Linked DNA regions of Homo sapiens: all the other regions are linked to region 4. The links are contacts of gene promoters, found by promoter capture Hi-C in human tissues and cell types (Jung and others, 2019). All regions are on one chromosome and are shown on one strand. Each heading gives the region's core, a stretch centred on a gene start or on the middle of the fragment in contact. The rest is flanking DNA. Distances are from core to core; before and after follow the strand shown. Region 1 overlaps LIMCH1 (LIM and calponin homology domains 1). Region 2 overlaps APBB2 (amyloid beta precursor protein binding family B member 2). Region 3 overlaps LIMCH1 (LIM and calponin homology domains 1). Region 4 holds the start of UCHL1 (ubiquitin C-terminal hydrolase L1). Region 5 overlaps APBB2 (amyloid beta precursor protein binding family B member 2). Region 6 has its middle 14 kb from the start of LIMCH1. Region 7 overlaps LIMCH1 (LIM and calponin homology domains 1).

What was found. The method cuts DNA at HindIII sites, captures the fragments that hold promoters and counts their contacts. A contact is called where the count stands out against the background at its distance.
Region 1: a contact is called between a fragment that was not itself captured here and the fragment with the promoter of UCHL1 in region 4, in 1 of the 25 tissues and cell types used here (hippocampus).
Region 2: a contact is called between a fragment that was not itself captured here and the fragment with the promoter of UCHL1 in region 4, in 3 of the 25 tissues and cell types used here (IMR-90 fibroblasts, aorta and hippocampus).
Region 3: a fragment that was not itself captured here is called in contact with the fragment with the promoter of UCHL1 in region 4 in 3 of the 25 tissues and cell types used here (aorta, dorsolateral prefrontal cortex and mesendoderm cells).
Region 5: a contact is called between a fragment that was not itself captured here and the fragment with the promoter of UCHL1 in region 4, in 2 of the 25 tissues and cell types used here (dorsolateral prefrontal cortex and mesenchymal stem cells).
Region 6: a fragment that was not itself captured here is called in contact with the fragment with the promoter of UCHL1 in region 4 in 2 of the 25 tissues and cell types used here (mesenchymal stem cells and mesendoderm cells).
Region 7: a fragment that was not itself captured here is called in contact with the fragment with the promoter of UCHL1 in region 4 in 4 of the 25 tissues and cell types used here (H1 embryonic stem cells, dorsolateral prefrontal cortex, hippocampus and 1 more).

Annotation. Positions count from the first base shown.
Region 1 is chr4:41,566,016-41,568,715 of GRCh38, reverse strand. All of the region lies in intron 1 of LIMCH1 (LIM and calponin homology domains 1), which reads right to left. LOC105374423 (a long non-coding RNA gene) reads left to right here. Exons shown (of 4, transcript XR_001741667.2): 1 at 1-2,700. Among named protein-coding and RNA genes, the nearest start is that of LIMCH1, 29 kb to the right of the region's middle. The HindIII fragment of the contact is 6,043 bases long and covers 1-2,700 here.
Region 2 is chr4:40,842,473-40,845,172 of GRCh38, reverse strand. All of the region lies in intron 12 of APBB2 (amyloid beta precursor protein binding family B member 2), which reads left to right. Among named protein-coding and RNA genes, the nearest start is that of NSUN7, 94 kb to the right of the region's middle. The HindIII fragment of the contact is 6,536 bases long and covers 1-2,700 here.
Region 3 is chr4:41,542,954-41,545,653 of GRCh38, reverse strand. All of the region lies in intron 1 of LIMCH1 (LIM and calponin homology domains 1), which reads right to left. LOC105374423 (a long non-coding RNA gene) reads left to right here. Exons shown (of 4, transcript XR_001741667.2): 3 at 285-439; 4 at 1,918-2,200. Among named protein-coding and RNA genes, the nearest start is that of LIMCH1, 6.1 kb to the right of the region's middle. The HindIII fragment of the contact is 5,731 bases long and covers 1-2,700 here.
Region 4 is chr4:41,255,673-41,258,372 of GRCh38, reverse strand. It overlaps UCHL1 (ubiquitin C-terminal hydrolase L1), which reads right to left and starts at 1,445. Exons shown (of 9, transcript NM_004181.5): 1 at 1,364-1,445; 2 at 1,247-1,258; 3 at 636-764. The coding sequence starts at 1,396. It overlaps UCHL1-DT (UCHL1 divergent transcript), which reads left to right and starts at 1,646. Exons shown (of 3, transcript NR_102709.1): 1 at 1,646-1,814. RefSeq lists an enhancer at 235-735 and a silencer at 570-1,329. The HindIII fragment of the contact is 4,741 bases long and covers 1-2,700 here.
Region 5 is chr4:40,869,620-40,872,319 of GRCh38, reverse strand. The region is part of intron 12 of APBB2 (amyloid beta precursor protein binding family B member 2); the gene reads left to right. Among named protein-coding and RNA genes, the nearest start is that of NSUN7, 120 kb to the right of the region's middle. The HindIII fragment of the contact is 6,921 bases long and covers 1-2,700 here.
Region 6 is chr4:41,522,948-41,525,647 of GRCh38, reverse strand. It overlaps a transcript of LIMCH1 not described here. Among named protein-coding and RNA genes, the nearest start is that of LIMCH1, 14 kb to the left of the region's middle. RefSeq lists an enhancer at 6-605. The HindIII fragment of the contact is 6,965 bases long and covers 1-2,700 here.
Region 7 is chr4:41,605,903-41,608,614 of GRCh38, reverse strand. LIMCH1 (LIM and calponin homology domains 1) reads right to left here. Exons shown (of 32, transcript NM_001330672.2): 4 at 2,611-2,712. The coding sequence starts at 2,619. Among named protein-coding and RNA genes, the nearest start is that of LIMCH1, 69 kb to the right of the region's middle. The HindIII fragment of the contact is 3,635 bases long and covers 1-2,712 here.

The DNA of each region.
Region 1 (2,700 bases), core at 33-2,532, 310 kb before region 4:
ACCTATAGCCTCGCCTTATTTTATGACAAAGGAGACAATTTACATTTGAGTATATCCTCCAATATCCACAGACATTTCATCAACATTTTGGCCTATTTTAGCAGCATCATATTTTTCTCATTCAGTCTTTCTGAAGGATAGCCAGAAGAAATCATCCATTTTAGAGTATTTTTCTCGCATTAGTTTTTGAAGAAATCTAGATCCAAAAATAAGTAGAACATTATGTCACCACTGTTTTCAATACATATACTCTGTGTGCATGTGGATCAAACCCATGACACACCATTGCAAGGGAATGCAACAGTTCTTGTGTTGTAACTCCGGTGCATCAGGTCAGCTGTCACGTTGGCTCTCCTGAAGCTGGACCTTGATAACTTTTTGTTTTAAAATTATTTTCAGATTACACAATTTATTGTAAAGTGATAGGAAAGCTTTCTTAGTGATGAGTCTGTAATTTCACTATCAATTATGGTTGTAAATACTGGATCCTATTGACCATTTATTCCTCAAATGCCATTTTACTGCCCATTTAAGTAACCGTCATAGCTGCTTTTTTCTTTTTTGAGAAGGAGTCTCGCTCTGTCGCCTAGGCTGAAGTGCAGTGGTGCAATCTCGGCTCACTACAACATCTGTCTCCTGGGTTCAAGAGATTCTCCTGCCTCAGGCTCCTAAATAGCTGGGATTACAGGTGGGTTTCACCATGCCTGGCTAATTTTTGTATTTTTAGTAGAGCCGGGGTTTCACTATGTGGGCCAAGCTGGTCTCGAACTCCTGACCTCGTGGTCCGCCTGTCTTGGCATCCCAGAGTGCTGGGATTACAGGCATGAGCCACCACGCCCGGCCTATAGCTGCCAATTTTAAGGACATTACCTGGGAGGTGAAATGAACTTATCATCTTTTCTGATGCCACTTAAGCACAAGATTTCTAAAAAAAGAGCTATTTATTACTACCAAACAAGTGTAGCAATACTTCCAAAGATAAACACAAAAAGACCTGGATTCTAATCATGCCTTTCTGTGCACTTATTGGTAATACTGGGCAAACTACATAATCTGTCTAAGCCCCAGGTTCCTCATCTATAAAATGCAGTAACACTTACCTACCAGGTTTTCCTAGGGAATAAAGGAGATAATTCAAGTATAGCACCTAACTCAGTACCTAACCCTAAGTAGGTAGTTAAAAGTATGGGCTCTGGAATTTAATTCTGCCTCAGTCATATATTACTACTATTGCTGCTACTATTGACCTTGTCATGATTATTTTTGCATAAATACTTTACTTATTTGGCTGAGAGCAAGTCAAAAGTTAAAAAAAGTTTTGCTGACGTGCTTATAAAGCCAACAAAAACACTTACTGAATATCTCAAACATGCCAGGCATTGTTCTGAGGGCTTTAAATGTATTATCTCATTAATCTTAAAAACACTTTCATTTTAATATTATCCCATGTACAGCATAATATATGAGGAAACCAAGGCACAGAGAGGTAGAGTAACTTCAGCATGTATGCACAGCAAGTGACGAGACAGGGTTCAAATCCAAGCAGGTCCCCCCCTTAACCTCAGCATCCTTTATTCTGCCTTCTTATGCAGACCCATCAGTTTTGTACTGTGCTATGACACACCACTGGGCAGAGCCCTTGCTAGTTCTCAGAACTTGGTGAAAGGAAGAACAGCTTTAAGAATAGAGGAGTTTGAGCAGGTAGGTTTTGCAAGTATTCTGATGGGCACTTATAAGAGCACTGCTGATTGGGATCAAAGAATTATAGGATTGACAATGATTCAGTCCTCATGATGAAGCTGCCCAGTCTAGGCTTGAAAGACTTCAGTAACAAGGAAGTGGTCAATTTCTGATGCATTTCAGCCCATCTTCGGATAACTCTGTATGTGATAGAAAACTCTTCTTTTTTTAAGTTTATTCCCAGCTTTAATGGGGTATAATTAACAAATAAAAATTGTATAAAGTGTATGATGAGATGTTTATCAAAACATCACATTCTACATTTTAAATTTATACAATTTTTGTATAATGATTTTGTGTAGAATGATTAGCATATCACTTCACATAGTTATCATAGAAAACTCATTCTTACATTGTATCAACATGTTGATGCTCCTAGTGACTTCTCCTCATTGGTTCTAAGTATACTTCCAGGAAACTGCCTACATCATGCTGAGGCTCTCTTTCACCCAACTGTCCTTCAGTATTCTGATATTTCATCATGTCTCCCCCAGGCCTATCTCTTCCCCACATTCAAAGCCTTTCCCACATTCAAAACCTCACTCAAAGCTCTGCAGCCCATGGATCAAGGAGTAATTTCAATTTTCAAGTCCTATTATCTAAGAAATATATTTGTAAGGCTATAGCTGCCATAGATAGTGATTCCTCTGATGGATCTGGGCAAAGCAAATTGAAGACCTTCTGGAAAGGATTCATCATGCTAGATGCCATTAAGACCATTTGTGATTCTTGGGGGAGGCTCAAAATATCAACATTAACAAGAGTCTGGAATAAGTTGATTCCAGTCCTCATAGATGATGTGGAGGGGCTCAATGTGACATGACCACCCATATGGCCTGACTCCTACCTTAGTGTCTTCACCACTAGGGATGCCTACTTTAGTGGTTAAGAGTTCAGGGATGAATGAGACAGACTTTGGTTTGAACTCTGGCTCTGTCTTACTAATTTTGTGATCGTGGA
Region 2 (2,700 bases), core at 63-2,562, 410 kb after region 4:
TTATGGCTGGTTTTCACTTTGATACTTAAATCAAGCAGTGTTTATTAACTCCAAATGAATTAACTGTGTTAAAAGTTTGCAGTAGCATTTTTTCCAAGTCTGCTTTCAGGGAAAAACACAGTAGCTACATCTTGATGGTATGTTTTTAAGTGAATCACTAGCAGTGGATCTGATTTAAAATATCCAAGACTACAATAATAATTATACACAAAAGAAACAGGTTGTATTCTCAGATTGTTAGATTTTTAAAGTTTTTGTCACACACTACAGATAGGCTTTTTATTAAAAATAAGAAATTGAAAACATTTGGTGTAATTAAAAGCAAGTCAAAGCACTAACATATCCTTTTCTGATAAAAATCTGAGCACTAAGAAGTTCCTAGCACATCCATTCTGAGATTAGGAACCCAAGAATTAGGGAGGTTGTGTGACTTGCATAATGTTACCCAGCTGTGGATTCAGACTGGGACCAGCATCCAGGTCTCTGGGTCCTTTGCTGATCTTGTAAATTGCTACCCAAGCCTGGCTTTGATAGGTGGAACCGAGTAGCACAGAGGGACCTGAGCCAAGGGGTGACTCTCCAGCATCCTGTATCAGCTGGGGTCCAGCAAACCTGAGCAGAGGGCCCCTGCCACTCCCCCAGGTGACTGTCCTTCCGTGGGAGACAGTCCATCTCAAATGCTGCCCAGCACAACCCAGCCGAAGAGATGAAGCTATTGGATGACACAGTGATAATAGCTGTTAACGTTGCAGGTTATTGCAGCTTTGTTACATGCCCAGCACTCCCATACACGTGTCGTCCCATTTAACTTCATGCTTATAATGCCCCTGAGCATTATGAGCATGAGCAGGTGTCCTTATCCCCTCTTCAATGATGAGGAAACAGGTTTTGTGGGGCATACCATGTAACACAGTGTGCCTGGCACACAGAGGGGCCCTGGAAATCTATGTTGGGTAAATAAAGAGAAGGTAAGCAGTGTACTTGAAGGAATGTGGCTACCCATCTGGATTTGAGCACAGCTGTGTCTGCCTCTTCAGCCCAAAGATCCTCTTAGGAATTTTTAGCCACCTCTTTCCCTACAAAAGTTCACCAAAAGAGAGGAATGTTCCCTGTTCCTCTAAAACCCTAGGTTCTTGGCCAAACCCTTTGGCCCTACCTTGAATACCTGTGCCTAGGGACTGTGTTTGCCATTTAGGAGACAAACCATTAGGGGGCTCTGCAGGACTGTGTAGAAGGGTGGAGTACCCATCATGGGTGCATCTAAGACTAGAATTCGAGTCCTGCAGCCTACTGTCAAACTCTCTTCCCCATGTAGTAGCTGTGTGACCTTGGCCAAGTGTCTTAGCCTCTCTGAACTTGTTTCCTCATCTGTCAGAACAGTAATACTGACCTTGTCCAGTTACTGTTAGGGGCCAAACAGAGCTCAATAAAGGGTAATTGGTGGCTGGTGTTACTGTAATCATTAATATTAGTCCTGTTAACTGCCCTGGGGCATGCTGATCACAATGGCTTTCCTTCAGTACTGAGGTAGATATTTGCATATTTTATCACAAAAGTCAAATGTGCTTATTGTATAATTTTCAAAGAGATAAAGTAAAATCCTCCATAATCCTCTTTCCATATTACAGTTGACAGTTCGGGTATTATATTCCAAGTTTTTTACTGTGTATATATTAAAATACACATGCAAACATTTTGTTGTTTTTATAAGACCATGCTTGTTTTATAAAAACAGCTTGGCTTTGTTTTTGCTCCACTTACTAGTGTGCCATGGTCATTGTTCCGCCTCAGGGTGAGCAGCTCTTCCTTTCCACTTAATGACTTTGTGGTTCACTGTCTGGTGCACTTGGCGTTTCATGCCATGATTTTAGCTCCATCCCTGCAGGGCCCTGCTGGCCGCTCCATGACCCTGGCCATAGAGTGCCCGAGAGAACGGGTTTCTGTAAACATTGGGTTTCTTCCTTTCCTCCTCGTTATCTATCCAGTGCTCCATGCTCTTCGGTCTAGTTGCTCTGTGTACGGTGCATGCAAATCGGCTGTGACAATGCCAGAAAGGAATGGTGTGAGCACCATGGGTCAGGGGATTAAGTGACTTCATTAGGGTCCCAGGCAGCTCAGGACAGCTCTGGGTAGCTCAGGGAGGGAACTCCAAGAGTGTGGCCCCAACCAGACTTGCACTGTGTTCCTCTCTCCGTTCCATTCCTCTCTTTCCTGGGACGTCTCTGATCTCTCCCCCATTGAGCTGTCATCTCCTGTCTCTCCCACTTCCCACCCGCCCTTGACCTGTGCTGCCTCCCTCCCTCCCTGTTGCCCTGTAAGGATGCATCTCAGGAAAAGTGCCTGGATTCCAGTGATGTGGCTCTGTTAATAGAGTGTCAGGAATGTCGGTAAAACAGGTAAGGCTATGTCCATGCCGTTGTTTCTGTATGTTTTTTATTGGGAGCAGGTGGAACTGGAAAATGAAGACACGTCCTCTGCCAGTGTTTACTGCAAACAGTTTCCTGTATTTGACTGTGATATTTTAAGCTTGATTACCTCCCCCAGTTGATATGTTGCCTCTGTAAATTCAGCTGGCATCTCTTGGCTTCATCATAATGTGGCTCAAAATACACACTTCTGGGTGATACAGTTGACCTAAAATAAGCACGGAAAGCCTATTAATTGCTGCAGAGTTGGGAAATTAGATGAGCTGTCAGTGCT
Region 3 (2,700 bases), core at 144-2,643, 290 kb before region 4:
TCCAACAACCCTATAACTCAAGTTGCAACAGTGTCCTTTCAGGAATGAGTAAAGGAGCCTGTTTGGGGGGAGGATGTAAAAGTCGTTGTCGAGGTCAACATTAAGTTTAGAGCCAGATAATAGGGTAACTGCTTGATCACCCTTGCTGTGATTTTCTAGCAAAGCTCTTTGTTTTCCATTCCTGATGATCACTGCCCTTCACTTTCCACAGTAACTCTCCCCTCGTACTGACGAACAGGAAAAAAACACTCAAGTCCTTTCTTACATAATGTGTTTTTTTGCAGGAGATCCAGAACTCAAAGATCCTTGATGCTTTTTATCAATTCCACTAAACGTCAAGGACAGGAAATAAAAACATTTTTCTCTTCCGACTCAAACACAATACCCCTTTGTGAAGCTGCTAAAAATCTAGAAATGGCAAATCTGGGAAAATTTTCAGGTGAGCGATAGGCATCAAAATATTTCATTTTTGCTAAAAATATCTCTTAAGTTTTTCTTAGCATTCCAACTCACATCACACTGAATTTGAGTACAAAGAACAGAATCTGTTTTACCCTTGTATTGGCAGTGACTTTGAGGTTATACAAAGGAGTCAAAGTAGCCTGTCCTATGACACTGAAGTCCCTGTAGGCATTTGCCAGTTCAGAGCAGTTCCTTTCAGAATGGAAACAGGAAAGATGGAAAAGGGAAGAGAGATCAATGCAAAATTCTGTATCTTCATTACTTGGCAACTGGAGTTTCAATCAAGGACCCAAGAGGTAACTTAGGCAAGTTGGGGAGTCCCTGAAAGCTAAACCCATGACAGTGAATCTTGTGTAGTCCTCAGCAGCTGCCCCAGCACAGATAAATGAGGCTTTCTAGGAAGCATAAGCATCCTAATGGCAGTAAGGCTGATCCAGTGTCCAGAGGGAAACGTGGTGGCAACAGAAGACACGTGTGGTCTGGGGTAGGCTTTGATGTTGCAGCTCCACAGCAACAGAGACACATGAGAAGAGATCAAAATAGAAGAACCACCCAGCCTTGCTTGGAGAGGAGGTGGAATGGAATGGAATAACTAGGTAACTAGGTAATAGAAAACCAGGTAACTAGGTAATGGAATAATTAGGGAACCACTGGGCACCTGGAGGCTTCTGGGCTCTTCTCTACTCTGCAGGCTTCTCTCTGACACATTAGAGGCCTCCCAGACTCAACTGCTCCCCTCGACAGGAGCAGAAAATAGACGACAGCTACATTTTCTTCAAGTCTTGCCAAGAAAAACCTTGCAGGGTTAAGAACACAAAAGCCTTCAAATATCTTGCTACTGAGGTTCTTTCTTATAAGTTTCAGTGTATACCCACACACAGAGAGTGAAGAAAATTCACTTTGATTCAAAGGGTTCAAGAATGTTCACAGTCTTTCGAGGAGTCACTATGTTTTTAAACTCTTTCAACAGCTCTATTTGTTCTCAAAAGAGTCATAGATTTATTTAATAGCAGTTTATCTTTCAGTTGGCCCATTACAAGCCGGAGCATAACACGTAAAGCATCCAGCATAATCACAGGTTTGGAATTGAGAAGGCTTGGTGGGGGTGGGGGGGTATCTGAAATATAAAGACAATATAAAGGCAAAGAGTTTGTCATGTTATTTGCTGCAGGGAAGCATGTCCATAGGTGAAAAAGTTGAATTTCACATAAAAATATAGAAGTAAACATCTGGAGAAGAAAGACTTTCATGGCAGGTTTGTGAATACGCCCCTAAAAATCCATCGCCCATTTTAAAGAAACAACTAGGGTCTGTGGAGCAACAGGGTGAAACAATCGTTCACTTAAGATACAGTAACATCTTTCTACCAAGTGATAAAAACCTATCACAAAATAAATACACACCACATGTGCTCCATAAAAGTATAACACAGAGGCGCCTTTGTTTTTTTAACAGAAACCTGGCCAAGATGTGAAGACCCAGACTGTGGCGCTATGTTTGGGACTCAGAGGTCTGACACGGGAGCTGAGACTCAGACCAAAGAATTAAGATAGTAACAACATGTTGTCAATTAATCATGCTCATAAGGTGGTCAAAATGACCATGAGGACACATTTCAGTCTACCGGACAGTATGCCAGCTTTCATTCTTGTGCTCAAAGACAAAGAAGAAAGCTTTAATTTGGTGCAATATGGGCCGAAAGTTTAGTTGTCATATATATTAAACTCAGCCTACAGTCTTACTTGAGTAAATTTCATGAAAAATCCAATTTTCTTAAATGTAAGTTATGTTAGGGAAAAAACACTATCTCCACAGGAGCTCAGAGATGTCCCTAACAATACACTCAAACATATTTCATGTATTTTATGTTTTTATGTTTAAACTTATAAATGTAAATTAATATATTTCTATTAAAATTCATAAAATATATATGTACATTTATAATATAAATTAAATACCTTCAGCTGAGTTAGACATTCTGTGCCTTGAAGGACACCAGTTATTTTAGGAACAAATACTCTTTATTGAGGAAGAAAGTGCTGGATCCACCAATGGAATGAACACCCACATCTCTTAGACATAGTTCCATGCGTTACCTTCTTCCCCACAAACCGCATGTTTGTGCAATTAGCTTTCATCAAATCAACATATTAGTCACCAAAAAACATGCTGATGAAAACAAAGACAGGCTAGTTGCTTATTTCTTGAAAGTGAACAGTTCCTTTGGCCATTATATAA
Region 4 (2,700 bases), core at 196-2,695:
TGAACAAGGATAAGTGAAGAGGAAGGAGGTTCCCACACAGAAACCATACACAAAATGATTAAGCTTTAAGAAATACATTCAAGAGGCTAAAAACCAAGTGTGCAAGTGGTGGGAGTGGAGAAGAGAGAAGAACCCCTTAAGACCATCAGAAACCCAAGTAATGGAGGCGGAGAATTAGCGAACCTAATTGTTTCCCTGCGATTTAGGTCAGCCCTTCCCCCTCCATTCTACAGCTAGGTGGGAGTCTGAGAAGCAAACAATGAGTTGACAGGTTATAGCCCTTAAAGGGAAACCAGCAGCCATTCCCCGGAACCGGAGGCTCGAAAAAGCCCAAGTTCGAGGGAACTCATGAGTAGGATGAATGATTTCCCTGGATAACGGGATAGATGGAACTGAGATACTGCCTCTCTTCCAAATTTAAGGCAATTGTGGACGGATGGGCAAGAAGGCGACAGGCACCGCTGGAACAGGAGCCCAGGGAGTAGGTACCACGAAAATGCAGGCTCCTCCCTTCCTTGTAGGCGCGCCCCGCATCACCTACAGGGGAGGGGGCGGGGCGGGGAGCCCCCGAGGACTCAAGCTGGGGAGCGGCGTGCACTGCCGGCGGCCGGCGCATCCTGGGCCCCACGCCCTACCTGGGCCGTGAGGGGAAACAGCAGCAGCAGCGCGCAGGCAGGCGCTGGCACCGAGCCCAGAGACTCCTCTTCCAGCCCCAGCACGTCCACGAAGCGCCACTGGCCGGCGACCCCCAGCCGGGACAGCACCTGCGGAGAGGAGACAAGGCGGCCAGGCGCACGGGGACACGCGGGTCGCGGGCACCTGCCAGGGGGCGGGGCCAGGAGGCGCGCGCCCTCCGCGCCCGCACCCGAGCCTGGGAGGAGCCCCAGTCCCGCCCTGCCACCCCCACCCGGGCCGGCGCAATGACACAGCACAAAGCGCGGCCCACACGTGGCGCCCGCGAAGCCCGTGCAGCCGAGTCTGTGCTGCCCGCGCCACGCCCTCGGGAGCTCCGCCTGGCGCTCGCTCGCCACGGGGCGCAGCCCCCTCCGTCTCCCCGTGACCGGTTTCGTAGAGTCACCCGCTAAATGCAGGGGCCCAGGAAAGGCGCCCAGCCCACGCCCCAGCCCGGCCGTCTCCGGTGCTCGCAGCGGGCGGCTTGGTCCCTGCCAGCAGCCGGAACCGGTGGGCGCCCCCGCCTCGGCGCTCGCGGGGGAGGGGGCCAGAGACGGCGCGAGACGCCACTCACTTTGTTCAGCATCTGAAAGGCAAATGCAAAGAAAAAGGCAAAACCGAACCGATCAGCGACTCGGCTCCCCCTCCCTCGGCCTCGCGCTCTCCGGGTAGCGGTGCACCTGGCGCTCACCTCGGGGTTGATCTCCATCGGCTTGAGCTGCATCTTCGCGGAGCGCCCGGCAGAAATAGCCTAGGGAAGACGAAAAACAGCTAGCGGAGCCGCCCAGGCTGCAGCTATAAAGCGCCGGCCAGACGCACTGTGAGGCCTGTGCAGGGGGAGCAGGGGCAGAACCAAGCGAGGGGGAAACGGACGGTCGCGGCCAGATGGGTACGAACCCCCCGTGCGCAGCGCGGAGTGGTACGGCCGGGCCCCCAAACCTTGCAGTCTCACTCGCCGGTGAGATAATCTGGTGGTTGTGGAGACGGGATTTGTTGGTGGGTGTTCCTTGAGTGTATGGAGCAGTCCTTTTGATGGAGTCTTTAATTTTGGGCGAAGTTTCTGGAAACCCATCCTTTCACCATCCCAATTACTCTAAAGCTCGAGTCTCTGAAGCATTTGAGAAAAAGCACAAATTCAACAGGTATATATTTAATACGAATGAATGTAAATGTGTGCCCCCCGCCCCAAATCTCTCAGCAGTTTGCGTTTAACCTTAGACAATTCCTCCTCCATGTTAAGTCAGACCAGTACCGAGGTTCGTTTTTAAGTGACTACCTAGAATAAAACAGAATCTGGTAGATAACAGATACTGCATTAGGAATGCTGATGTAATGTGACTCCCGCGGAAGAAATGGTTGGTCCTGGGAGAGCAGTAGAAAGCTGGGGGATGTGAGGGTAATACAAGACACAAAGAAGGCAGGCGATTGGAGACTTGAGAAAACAGATCCAGGGAAAAGATGGGTATGATTTTGAGCGAGAGGCTGTAAAAGGAAAAGCATTTTTAAAAGAATGGGAAGCTTTGAAAAATAAAATGTCTGAGTTCACCGCAGAATACTCCCAATGAAGAAGAAAGGGAATGGCAACCAAGGAAACCACTGTTCTCTAATGATCTCAGGTGATCTCTAATGATCTCTAGTCAAAAGATGGAGAGAGAAAGCATTTGCTGAAGAATGAATTTTAAAAGGGACCAAAATCTATAAGAATTGTGCCAGGAAAGCTAAGCTGCAGAACAAAGTGGGCTTGCAGAAATACTTAGGTAGCGAAGGAAGCAAGAAGGTTGAGTATTTTTTAAAAATAGGCACCGAAGAGAATAATGATGATGGTAAAAGAATAGACCTTCTATTTAGGAAGTTGAGGTTAACAGATGACAGAGGGAAGGGAGGGAATCAACATTTTTTGAGTTATTGTTTTTGGGGATCCTTTGCATGTGTCTCTCATTTAATCCTTAGAGGAGCCGTGAAGAGACTCATATTAGTGCAATTTTACAGATCAGAATCCCAGGCCTAGAGAAGTTAATTTGCTTACGG
Region 5 (2,700 bases), core at 128-2,627, 390 kb after region 4:
AGACTGTAATAACAACCAAAAATCTCAGTGGCTTATAACAATTCTTTCTGCTAAAAGTCCATGGTGGGTTGGCTGAAGACACGGCTTCCTTTGTCATTGTCCTCATTCTCTGTCTAAAGCTGATGATAAAGTCACAATCTAGACTACAATATTGGCAACAATGGTGGCAGAAGGAAAAGATGCGCTGACTGAACATTTCTGCTGGAAATGATGCTTAGCGCTTTTGCTCACATTTCATTGGCAAAGCAAGATGCGTAACTGCGCCTCACTTCAAGGGTTGGGGAAATATACGCCACCCCTACAAATGGGAGTGAATCTTCACAGCACACCATGCCCTGTGCTGTCTTTCAGCTCTGTAGTCATGCATATATTCATTGTACTAGATCTCTTCAACCTCGGGTTGTCACTAATGTCACAGATGTGTGTCTCCCTGGTTAGACTGTGAATTCCTTGACAGCCATCACCATATCTTAGATTTCCTTGTGTGTGCTTCAACATGATGTTATCCTTATATTAGATGCTTAAAAGTACTTTTGATTATCTGAAGGGGAGAATGAGGGGAGAATAATCAGAACTCTGTGCATGTTTTGACACAATGCTTTATGGTTTACTGAGGGTCTATCTCCATTAGTCCTTTCAGGACTACAGGGTGTAGCATTATGTCCCTTTTACAGATGAGGAAACTGAGACCTAGAACTTTTACACGACTTAATCAGTTTTATACAAAAATGTGGCTGAACCGTGTCTGAAACCATGAATTCTAAATTAATGGGTCAGTGTTCCTACTCCTTTTAGCTGTTAATATGGACACTCCAATTACCTTGTGCAGAGGCCCACATGAGGGAAGGAAGAGGAAACTTCAGAAAAGGAGTTGAGGCCGGGTGCGGTGGCTCATGCCTGTAATCCCAGCACTTTGGGAGGCCAAGGCGGGCGGATCACTTGAGGCCAGGAGTTCGAGACCAGCCTGGCCAACGTGGCAAAACCCCGTCTCTACTAAGAATACAAAAACTAACTGGGGATGATGGCTCTTGCCTGTAGTCCCAGCTACTCAGGAGTCTGAGGCGGGAGGATCGCCACTTGAACCCAGGAGGTGGAGGTTGCAGTGAGCCAAGACTGCAACATTGCCCTCTAGCCTGGGCAACAGAGTGAGACTCTGTCTCAAAAAAAATAAACGGGTGCGGGGTAGTAGGGTCTTCACAGATGTGATTAAGTTAAGGATTTTGACCTGAGGATATTATCCTGGATTACCTGAGTGGGACCTAAATCCAGTCATAAGTGTCCTTCTGAGAGACACTTACACATATATATATATGTATGGCTGGGCGCGGTGGTGGCTCACCCCTGTAATCCCGGCACTTTGGGAGGCCAAGGCGGGTAGATCCCCAGAGGTGGGGAGTTCATCTCTGCTAAATATACAAAATTAGCTGGGTGTGGTGTCATGCACCTGTTATCCCAGCTACTCGGGAGGCTGAGGCAGGAGAATCGCTTGAACCTGGGAGGCGGAGTTTGCAGTGAGCCGGGATCGTGCCACTGCACTCCAGCATGGGTGAGAGTGAGACTTGGTCTCCAAAAAAAAAAAAAAAAAGAGTGTGTATACACACACACACACATATATGTATATAATACCTATAAGGTAACATTTGCAGGTTCCAGGGATTAGGACCTGATTTCTTTGGGATATTTTTCAGCCTTCTACAGTTAGGGCAGTGGAAGCCCCTTCTGCTACCCAGCTTTGCTCCTCCATCTTCCTCACCCAGCTGTCTCTCCTCTAGGTGGTACAGATTATATGACTTCTTAAATGAAAGGGCTTTTGGAGTGAGGCACACCGGTTGGCTTCCTGATCTGCCTCTGTTAGCTGGCTGACCCTGAGCCAGTTACACACTGTGCCCCAGGGCCCTCTTGTGTAGAGATGGAAGCTTTGGAACCCCGATGCAGCTTGGTTGTAAGATATTAAATGGGAGAGGGCTTGGCACGGGTCCCTGTCCCCTGGTGAGCACTCAGAAGAGAATGTTGTCCCTCCCTCTGCGCTGCCCCTCACTCTGCCCTCCCTCATCTGCACTGGCAGTGGTGGGCACAGTGGGCTGGAGGCAGAGGAGGCTGCTTGTTGAGATTCCTGGAGCATTTCCTCCCATTTATTTTTCTTAGTGAAGTCAAAAACAGACAAATGTTTATTAAATAATGAATCATTCTTTCCTAGAAGGATTATTTCATTTCATGGGTGAGCGGTTTATTGCCAGAGAATGATGTCTTCCCCCAAAATGATGTATAACGTGATTTGGTACCTAAGTTTTTAGACACTTGAATGTTTTTTCTCTCTTCCATTTAAACTTGAAGGTTGTGAAATGTAGTCCATATTCATTCATACTCTGTTCATTTCAGGAGATACCCACAAGCAGAATGGGGTGACTGGGGCCTGCTTTGACCTCATATTTTCCTATTTCTACAGGAATATATAGAATATTTACTAAATACTAGGTATTTAGTAATAAATACCACAAGCCTTCCTAGGTAATAAGCCTGTTAAGAAAAGTAAGCAATTATATAATTGGCAAAGAAATTAATACAAAGATCTAAACCAAGAAATATCAAAGTCTTTTATTCTTAGAATTTTTTTCATTTCACGTATATTCCTTGTCTGCCTTCAGAATCTAAAATTCTGGCCCACTTTGTTTATAGAGCGGTCCCTTTAGACATTTGCCT
Region 6 (2,700 bases), core at 144-2,643, 270 kb before region 4:
CATGATTCTGAAGAACAAAATTAGAAAGATTTTTAACGACTAATCACCAGCTCACTACCAACCAATATGGGGAATAAAATGCATCCACAGAAATAGCAGTTCTTAAAGAAAACATCTATTTCATTCAACTTGCTGAAACCATGTACCTTCCCACAAGGACCCCCCACAATTCTCAAACACAATTGGTTTTTTGTCACATCTAATTTCAATTAGTCATCGTGATATGGCTAAGAAGCTTTTTAACAACAATCAGTAAGGTCTACGTAGGATCCTGCTTAAATTCTTGACATTCTTCTCATTGCTTTCTGCAAAACTACATGCGCAGAAGGCGATCACAATGGAAACAATCAGTGAGTCATTACCGAGCTACATACTTCCTCTGCTCTGTGTGTGTGTGTGCGCGCGCGTGTGCACGCACACACACATATGCCAATTCCTTCCAAAACTAAGATTTGATTGTCTTCCTCATCTTCTACTTCTTTCCTTTTTCTACACAAAGGCAACATCGATGAAGCAATTAAAAAATTAGTTGCCAAGAATTATAAGACATATCAACGCATGAAAAAAATATTCTGCTTCTAACCACATATGAACATGTAAGTTTTAGATTTTATGTGGATAGGTTCAGAAGGGCAAGGATTCTGCTTAAACAGTTCTCCAGATGACGTTAGACCACCTTAGTGCCCCAGTATGTCTTCAGGATAGTTGGCCTACAATTGTGGTATTTCAACCCAAGTAGATTATAATATTGAAAGCAGCAATTTATTATAAAACGACTGTTTTCTCTTAAAATTCTCTTTCTCTCTACCTCCCCTACCCTCCATTCTAGGGGAATGCAGTGATGAACTGAAATGAGAAAACGTAATTAAAATCACATTCCTCCCCCAAGGGTCAACCTAATTATCAGCCTCTCACACCAAAACAAATTTAGCTCTTTGAGAATGAAGGTCCTTATCACTCATGGAAAAAACACAAACAAAGATTAACATGCCATTTAGGCATGACTGCAATCTTTCATTTTAAGTGACCTCTTCGTTTAATGGATTCAATGCGTTCTCATTCAAGTGGAATATATATTGCAGGAGAGAACTGTAATAAATGGTGCTGTCATGACCCCTAGGTTAGAGCAAAGGAATATTGGAAAATAAATCTCAATTCCACGTACTCACCAGTCCTGCAATGGGGGTAGGCAATCTATTGATCTTTTTAACAAGTCCTGGCTTTATAGCATTCAGCAACCTGTCATGAAAAAGGCAGAATGTCAAGTGAGACATAAAGCAAGATGGATCACACAAATCACCTTTATCCGGGGCTACAGCTAAATTGCTGGATAGGAAAAGCAGTGAATTTAAAGCATATAGTAAATCTCAATAATCTATCAGCCTTCATGCATATAAGTGAAGAGCTTTGCCAACATCAAGTTGGTCCACGGCAGGTGAAGTTTTAGAATTTAGAAATGTTGAGAGATGAGAAAAGGTAGAGACTGAGGAGGGCTTCAAGGAAAAGGACAAGGGGGAGAGCTGGATTGAGGTTGTGAGGGAATTATCTGGAACTGGAACCAGGTATTACAACTCAGGTAAGGCTTGTTGCCAATTTTCCTGGCTAAGACATGGATCTCTCCAGGGATGCACTAAATTCAAAGACCAGTTTCTATCTTTACAAATGATTCGCCAAGACACATTCTAAGTCAGACCCTACTTGCTCTTTGAGAAGAGTGGCTTTTTCAATGTGGTTGAGTTTCACTTTAAAAAGGGAAGAATGTGTTTAATAAGAGGTTAGCCAATCATATTCTGAAGATTTTAAACAAGGCTAACCAAGAGTCCCTAGGTACAAAAGATATTTGAGCAAAAGATTTTCAGCTAAAGATTGAAATTATATAACAATGGTTACACAAGCAAGGGAATGCAAGAGAAACAACTATCATTGCCTGTTTTCAGGACATAAAAACCCAGAGTGAAGAGAAACAAGGAAAGCAACTTATAAAATTAAAATATGGTTAGCATCGGGGTAATTGGGTAAAGTGTAGTATTTGCAAAGTAGGTTATTCATAAATAAGTGATTGAAGGTAAGGGGCTGTAGAATGTAGAATGTTATTTCCACGTTCGGGAATCAGGCAATTAGGTAACTTAGAATACTGTGCAAAGAGAAACTTAGGGTAGGAGTGTATCATAATTGAGAGGTCAACAAACTACAATCCATGAGCCAAATCTGGTCCAACACCTGTACTTATAAATAAAGTCTTACTGGAACAGGAATATAACCATCCTCATTCATTTACATATTGTCTATGGCTACTTTTGTGCTACAACTGCAGAGTTGAGTAGTTACAATGGAGACCTGAGGGGCCACAAAGCATAAAATCTTTACTATTTGATGCTTTATGGAAAAAGTTTGCTGACCTCTGTTAAAATTCATGCAATCCAAGGTTATAACAAATTATAAAGAACCTGTGCTTGCCAGATTTCTACAGATCAGTAACAAAAATTTTTCAAATGGTTTAATAGTCTTGAATTTAGACTATCTTTGACTTTGATACCACCATATATTCATATGTTGAGAAATGTCCCTACAGTGATTGTGACAGACAGGATATTCCATTTTTGCATGCAAGATTAATTGGCTGTTCTCGGTAATTTTCACTGCAATTCCAACATGCTGCTACCAAGAGGCGGTACTCAGAGTGCACAAGTGCTGTTTTGC
Region 7 (2,712 bases), core at 190-2,689, 350 kb before region 4:
CTACCTGGGTCACCTTTACTATAGAACTTAACAAGTTGCACCCTAGTGAATCATTTTTATGCACATTTCACCCACTAGAAAAATGAATATAAAAATTTGTGGATAATCTCCTTTGTGAAAGAAAAAAAACTAATTTCAAATTTATTTCAGCCTGCATATGTGCAGAAGAGATTACAGTTGTCCCTCAATATCTGCTCTCCTAACAAAAATGCCTACAGTTTTTAGCTGAAATAAAGTCTACTTTCCCCAAGTCTTTGCTTGCAGCTAGATATGGATGCATGACCAAGTTCAAGTCTGTAAGATGTAGCTATGTGTGTAGTGTGTAATTTCCCAGAGGTGTGTTTAAAGGGAGAGCATGGAATCTTCTCCCCGCCATTCCTCCCTTTTCTTGGCTGAATGTGGACATGATGGCTAAAGCCTGAACAGCCATCTTGGATCAGCAGGTGAACAGCCATGGGTTGAGGTTGTTGGTACAAAAAGACAAAGAAGCTTGGGCCTTCTGTTGGTGAAAAGACATGGAACCCCACATCAGCCCTGGACTGCTCATGTCCACGTCTCATTTATGTGAATTAGAAATAAAATTGTTGTCTTATTTTATCTGTTATTTTGAGGCTTTTGTGTTTCCCAGCTGAACCCGATCCTAACTGACAAAATGAGATTATATATATCACATATAAAACTAGTATTTCCAGGTGCTCAGATAGTCCAGTGAAGTTCAAGTCATTTTCTCTCTAGATGGAGATATGGCAGTATCATGGCTGGCCATTTTTGCTAAGAGTCATGTATCCAGGGATACTACTTACTCCACCATGTCCTGTGATGTTACCTACATTCAACAAAAAGGGTAACAGCTGTTAACAACAGGTCATTTTACAGCAGTTGAAGAAACTAACTGTAGAAAGAGAAGCTAGGAGAGTTGAAGAAACCAATAGCTGCTCAGATTCTACAGGAGCTGGACTAGTAGTAAGAAATGTCAATCATGAGAATAAATCAGATTCCAACAGAATCTAGCAGGGGAACTGTGAGACAAAGCTTCATGACCCATCTATTATTATTCAAGTCCAAATTTAATATAAAAACAATAAACATTTAGACATCTCAAATCCAGACTGGATGTTAGATGAGAAATTAAAGGGCAAATAAGAGGTGAGACTGAGAAGCAATGAGTTGTGCTTCATTGTGTGTCTGTGTTTATTTAATTTTTAAAGGAATTCAGCTTAAAGTACCTTGTGTATGTGCGTTATGACCAATATGAAAGCTTTGGCCATTTATAAATACATGAGCCAGACTGGCCTTAGCCAAATGTGAAGAACTATCAGGACCATTAGCTTTAATTTAAGGAAAGGAAAATAAATGTTTAGAAAATTGGAACCAATTCTTGCTTTCAGTATTAAAAGAAAAATTGCAAGGAACTGAATGTTTCTAGTTCATTTATTTTGCATACTAGAGAAATGAGGAAGAGTAAGGCCTCAATTATTTGTCCTCTAATGTGGACTTTATCCAAAATGCCTGGAGGGGCCGGGTGCGGTGGCTCACACTTGCAATCTCAGCACTTTGGGAGGCCAAGGTGGGTGGATCACCTGAGGTCAGGAGTTCAAGACCAGCCTGGCCAACACGGTGAAACCCTGTCTCCACTAAAAATACAAAAATTAGCCAGGCTTAGTGGTGGCTGCCTATAATCCCAGCTACTCGGGAGACTGAGGCAGGAGAATCACTTGAATCTGGGAGGCGGACGTTGCAGTCAGCTGAGATTGCGCCACTGCACTCCAGCCTGGGCGACACAGCAAGAATCCATCTCAAAAAAATAAAATAATTAAAAAAGTACATGGAGGTCCATTATAAATAAGCCTTACCTGTACACTAAGGCGGGTTGGGAGGGCCTCTCCTGGGTAACACTATGTACTAGCCATTTGTATGAGTTGTATATTGCTGGACCTTCAGATGAAACATTCAGGCAAGTAGTACACATGAAACATTCAACTGTTTCCTTGACAAATCCCTACCTTAGGTCAGTCTTTTCTATACTCAAAGAAACAAATGAAGCTTTTAACAATGTATGAAATGTTTTCCAAATTCCTATGTCATTCAAAAACAGTGGCTATAACATGCACATGTTAGAGGAGAATGCATTTAATGTATCCCGCCTTGTCCAGAGCGTATGCCAAGGTAAGAGCTTGGTTCACGTTACCTCACCCACATCAAGGCCCCAGTGGGTAAGCAAAATGCCCTTTAGCACAAAAGTGCAGAGCGAGTCTTCATTTTTGCATAATACTGCATTGTTTAATTCAAGCATTATTCCCCCAAGAAAACAAGCACTGAGCATCTTGGCATACAAAGGCATATACTGATAGATTGAATTTGCTTTTTTGGAATTAAAAAGTTGGATGGAGCTCAGAACTCCTGTTCTCTGAAGGGTATGAAAGTGCAGGTAGGTGTGACATGCATGAGGCAAAGATGTCATTGGTAAGACAAGTGATCGTTTCCTTGAGTGCATATCTTTGGCTCATACCATTCCACAACCCAGTACTCTAGTAATCTTAAAAACAAGCAAATGTGTAGCTTTCCCACCTTGTCTAACGCTTATGGGATAAAGAAGAAAAGCCAAGTTACCTTTCGCATCTGAGCCAACAATCCTTCAAACTCCTTCAGGTTTAGTGTCGTTCCGCTGTAGGATGTGCAGCTGTTTGCTGCTTTTCCCAGCCAGTAAATGGT